Regions from separate parts of the Homo sapiens genome. Here region 1 is linked to region 2. The links are contacts of gene promoters, found by promoter capture Hi-C in human tissues and cell types (Jung and others, 2019). All regions are on one chromosome and are shown on one strand. The core of a region is centred on a gene start or on the middle of the fragment in contact, and the rest is flanking DNA. Distances in the headings are between cores, read along the strand shown. Region 1 overlaps CA12 (carbonic anhydrase 12). Region 2 holds the start of APH1B (aph-1B gamma-secretase subunit).

Region 1 (2,731 bases), core at 169-2,668, 73 kb before region 2:
CTCATGGCTACCTTTCATCAGTGAGCCCCTCTTTCTTCTGTCTCCAACCTTCCTTCTCTGGTCTCTTTTGCCGTCTGCATAGCAGTTTGCTCAAGCCTCTTCATAAAAAACAAAAACACAGGCTGGGTGCGGTGGCTCGCGCCTGTATTCCCAGCACTTTGGGAGGCCAAGGCAGGTGGATCGCTTTAGGTCAGGAGTCTGAGACCAGCCTGGCCAACATGGCGAAACCCCATGTCGACTAAAAATATAAAAAATTAGCTGGGCGTGGAGGCACGCACCTGTAATCCCAGCTACTTGGGAGGCTGAGGCAGAAGAATTGCTTGAACCTGGGAGGCGGAGGTTGCAGTGAGCTGAGATTGCACCACTGCACTCCAGCCTTGGTGACAGAGCAAGACTCAGTCTCAAAAACAAAAACAGAAACAAAAAACAAAATCTTTCACATTACCCTCACCTTACCATAACCACCACGCATACACCCTTCTCTCATCCCTTTATGGCTAAATTTCTGAAATGAGCTTAAAAAAACCCTCCACATCCATTCAAGGATGTGTTCAGACATAAGTAGGGATATGACATAAAGTTCTGGTCTTCCAAAGGTCTTTGAAACTCATATTCTGAGCTCTAGTCTGTAATAAGTTTCTGTACTAGTCTGGCTCTAACAGTCACAGGTGAGGCAGGCTAACAATCATCACTGCTTGCTAGTGTGCACAACCCGAGTAGGCTGGCCGAGAAGTTCAAGTCAGGGACTAGAAAGCACTGGGGTAGCTTTGGCAGGACCTGAGCTGGACTTTGAAGAGTGGACGAAATTTGGAAAGGTGCAGAGGAAAGAAGAGGGCATTTGAGCAGATTTTTTCATAACGGCATTTGTGAAGGTGGGTTGGCATAGCCTGTTCTTAGGCTCAGGGAGCTGGCTGAAGCATGGGGCAGGCTGGGGCGGGATGTGGGGGCCTTTGAAGACTTTGACAGGTTGGGGCACTTCAAGGCCATGAAAAACAGCTAGGCTGTGCTTTGTCTTGTTGGGGTGGGGCAGGGCATGCTAGGGAGAAAGGGAGTGTACGGATGGGTGGTGGGGTGGTGCCACCCAAGCCAGGCTATGACAAGATTGATCTGGTTACTGCAGGAGAGCCAGCCTGGCAGTGTAACAAGGAAGGCTGGGGCTGGTTGCCTGTGGGAAGCCTTTGCAGTGTGACATGGCGAGGGCCTAACCCATGGAAGCATGGGAGTCCATGACCCACTAAGGGCAAAGGATAGACCAAGCTGGCTCTGAGATGTTGAGCCTTGGAGGAGCGGGGCCCAGGTGTTCTCTGATGAGGCATTCCACCATCAAGCTGTAATCTAGGCCATAACACATCCTCTAATTGCAATATTGCAAAAAATATATGGACTGTATGTGAACCCTGAAATTTACAAACTGTTAAAAATTTATGACCTATTTGGAAAAATTTGAATTCTAATTGGATTCGGTAATCTTAAGGTATTAATTCTTAACTCTCTAGGTGTGGTCATGGTACTGTGGTTTTAAGAGCCCTTATGTTTTAGAGAAACATATGAAATATATACAGATGAAATATATCTGGATTTGTTTCCAGTTATCCAGGTAGATAAGGGGAGAATGGGCTTAGCATAGATGAGGCAGGACTGTTTCTGAATTGTAAACTGTCCAAGCTGGGTGACATGGGGTTCATTCCACTCCTCTCTCTACATTGTATACATTTGAAATTTTCTGTAAAAACATTCTGGTCCTTGGATAATGCAGGTCCTACACCCTGGGCCTCAAAATTCCCAATCAGAAATCACGAGAGGCATTTTGAGCTGTGCCATGTTAATCTCTTGTTACCTTTCGAAACAGGAATTCTGACCACTTCTGTTTTGCCTAGAGCAGGAAAAACACATAGACAGGAAAGAAATAATGCCTTGGCTTTATTTAGAAAAACAAACTGTGAAAGACACGTGATCCTCCTGTATCACGATCATGGGAGGAGTCCAACCAACTGGAGAGGCGAAGTCAAAACTCAGAAGAGCAAAGGCAAAGTTTTAGCTGGAAATAAATGCTTCTTTTAGGAGAGTCACTCCCAGTGGAGGATTTCTGGCAGTGGAGCACTTGGCATGAGTGTGAAAGCTGACACTGAGTTGGAAAATGGTAGCCCAGGGTGTAGCGGCCAGCATAAGGCCAGCACTGTGCAGTCACATGTCACAGCTCAGGGAACAGAAAGGCCTGCTGTTGTCACCTCTGATATTGGTTGTCCCGGTGCCCACCCTCATGGCACCTCTATCTCTCACATGCCACAAAGACAGGAGGCTGCTCTGACAGTGTCCCCAGCTATGCAAGGCGGGGACACCCACTAGCCATTACATGCTGGGGGAGGGCCCTATGAACTTCCTTGGCAGGCCGTCTCCCAGGCTACAGGGCAGAAATCAGATTTCTTTTTCAATTAGTGCCCCCAAACAGAAACCATTTGCACACAGGTAAGCTAGAAAGCTAGGAGGGTACATTTTGAACCTGAGCAAGTGATCTCATTTTTCCTCCTCTTTTTTGAGGAGAAGAAATACATGAGGGAATTAAGGTGGGTGCACGTTCCCTGGGAAAGGAACAAGCATGAAACAGGTGTTGAGAGTTCAGCTTAGTAAACATGTGAGGGCCCACTCTGTGCCAGGCACTGTGGGAAGTGCAGCGATGGATGAGCCGTGGTCCTTGTCTTCAAGGACAGCGTGGGGAAGCCAGGAAATTCCA
Region 2 (2,700 bases), core at 63-2,562:
CTGCTACTTGCAAGTACATCTGCAGACTCTATCTGCCAAGGACTATCTAGCTAGAAACTTGGTTATTTGCTACTCTTTCTAATCAATGCTCTGCCCATTGATGAGCCAAAACAAGAAAATACACAACCCTGATTACTGCAATTTTCATATTCTTAAAACTTACAAGAAATTATGGATTTACTGATCAGATATCTGCAAAGATGAGTATCTTTTCCAGAAAAATATCTACATCTCTATTAATAAAGTGACTGGTATAAAATTCAACTTGAAAACCTGTGTTCTGATCTGGATCAGTATCCAAGCCCTCCAGGTCTTACAGCACCCCTGGGGATTCTAATGATTATAGCAAGCTTTACAGACCCTTCCCAAATCTCTATTATTTTTAAAATGACATGCAGCGAAGCACTTTCAATACGTTTGTGGGAGGTGAAGAAACGCAGAAAAGCGGGAATCATTGGCCTAGTCTGGTGCCAAGAGAGACTCATCAGAGGAGGGGGGATGTGGTATGTGCAAGTAAGAGGCAGGTGATGACTGCGATGGGACACCAGAGTCCGGTATTTACCAAGCTCCCAGAAGGAGACGCACAGTCAGGTGCTTCGGTGTTTTTACAGGTTTCCACCCTTCGGCTGCACAACGGAACCATCCAAAAGGAGCTTAAATTTTTTTTTTTTTTTCTGAAGCCCGAATCCCATCCCCTAGACATTCTGATTCAATGGATCGGGGTGGGGGTGGGCATCGGCATGTTTTAAAGCACCTGGCCACAGGTGATTCTAATAGGCGGAAGTCGCGCACTACTATCCTAAACGCCAATGGTTTTTAACCCTTTGGGGATTACACATGCCTTTGAGAATCTGAGGGAAATTAGGGACTCCCCCTCCAGAAAATGAAGGATGCATATATGAACTTATCCATAATTTTTTTATACAACTTTAGTAGCTTCACGGATCACTAAACCCCACCCATGAGCCCCAGGCAAAAGGCCCTGACCCCCAGTGTGCGCTTCTTCCTAAGAGGGCGAGGCGCCTTTGGGGAGCCGGATCTCCGCTCTCCCCCTCTCAACCCTCCTCCCGTCTGAAACGCAACAAGGTCGAGCCGCGCGGTGGGGGCGCCGAGGGTCGCGGGTAACCCCAGCGGGGGAGGGGAGCCCCGGCGTCCGGGTTTCCCGACGCGACCGCCTCACCCGGCGATGAGGAAGATGATACGCAACGGCTCGGTGGCGATGGTGAAGACATAAAGGGCGAGCGCAGGCCCGAAGGCAATGAAGGCGCAGCCGAAGAACACGGCCGCAGTCATGGCCACCGCGGAAACCGACCCGGGGGCCCGTTGGGGACGCGAGATGCTCCCGGCGCGGGCGGGGTTCGGTGGGTGGGGCTCGGGGTGGGGGGCTAAGCGGGACGCGGGGGGCGGGGCGCGGCTCATGGGCAGGCACGGGGACGGGGGCGGGGCTCGGGGGCGGGGCACGTGGGGGCGGGGGCGGGGCTCGGAGGCGGGGTACGTGGGTCGCGGGGCGAGGCGGGGCGTGGGGGTAAACGCTAGGGCCTGGGGGACTGGGCGGGGCGTGGGCTGAGGGCGCCGGGCGCAGGGGCGGGCTCAAGGCGGTGAGCGCGGACCCCACCGTTGGGCCCTCCGCCCTACCGGGTGTCCGGAAGCGCCAGGGCCACGCCGCAGCTCCTGCTCCCGAGGCGGGCGTCCTCGGCGACGTTAGGGCCCCAGCCATCGCCGCAGCCCCACAGATACACTCCGATCGGGTTCCAGTGCCGGCCGCGAGGTGGTTAAGAGAAGGGAAGCTCCCTAGCCCACCTTCGAGCCGCATGCACCGAGAACAGGCAGAGATTCCAAGTCAACCAAAGAGACTAAACAAAAATGTAGCGCAGGAACAAGCAGGATTCCTTTTTAAATAGGTTTTTTTTTTTTTTTAAGCACATTTTACCGTTTGGATAGTTGCGGGAACTTCGTACTCCATCCTGTATAAAACCTAGGCTGGGATAGCAGTGACCCCGGGGATAACCCACAGATGGTAAAATGATGAAAGAGTGGTGGAAGAAGCTGCCCTTCTCAGGGCTGTTTCAGCCAAATGGTTTTTATTTTTTTCCCAATTCTTCAAAAGGGTTGTTTTTGCAGGCATTCTGTGACCACCCTACAAGCAATAGTAACATCTCCCTGCTCCGTCTTCTCACAGTCGTCCATTTCACTTGCTTATTTTTCTTCCCCGTTAAAACGCGAACTCCTGGGGGACAGGGACTTTGCTTTGCTCTTTGTTGTTTCCTCAGCACCTAGAAGTTCACTAATATCTGTTCAATAAGTGAAATAATTTAAAAGGTGGAAGTTATAAACATCTATATTAACAATTTCTGAAAGGTTTAAAAATTAAAACTTAAGTTCTCTGATCATTCACATCCAAGTTAGATTTTTCTTTATGTTGAATAATACTTCGTCGGTTATTTTGATCAGTGTGCCTGACACAGGTAAGTGCTATGTAAGTATTAACCACTCCTACATAATGTCCATCATGAATAAAGATTTTGGCAATCCACATTTAAAAAAACACCAGTAGACAAATGTTGGGACCTGACAGATGTTTTGCAGCTCGCCCCTGAAAATGCACCTTCAAATAATACAACTGCAGGTATTTAATTCTTACAGAAAAACATTACCTTTGCCCATTTAAAAGTCATATATATTTCCATTCACTCCCACAGA

Evidence for each region. The method cuts DNA at HindIII sites, captures the fragments that hold promoters and counts their contacts. A contact is called where the count stands out against the background at its distance.
Region 1: a contact is called between a fragment that was not itself captured here and the fragment with the promoter of APH1B in region 2, in 6 of the 25 tissues and cell types used here (IMR-90 fibroblasts, aorta, hippocampus and 3 more).

The regions. Positions count from the first base shown.
Region 1 is chr15:63,349,746-63,352,476 of GRCh38, reverse strand. The region is part of intron 2 of CA12 (carbonic anhydrase 12); the gene reads left to right. Among named protein-coding and RNA genes, the nearest start is that of CA12, 31 kb to the left of the region's middle. The HindIII fragment of the contact is 8,588 bases long and covers 1-2,731 here.
Region 2 is chr15:63,276,217-63,278,916 of GRCh38, reverse strand. APH1B (aph-1B gamma-secretase subunit) reads right to left here and starts at 1,312. Exons shown (of 6, transcript NM_031301.4): 1 at 1,181-1,312. The coding sequence starts at 1,293. LOC124903504 (a long non-coding RNA gene) reads right to left here. Exons shown (of 2, transcript XR_007064674.1): 2 at 2,065-2,700. RefSeq lists silencers at 1,006-1,285, 1,366-1,785. The HindIII fragment of the contact is 12,664 bases long and covers 1-2,700 here.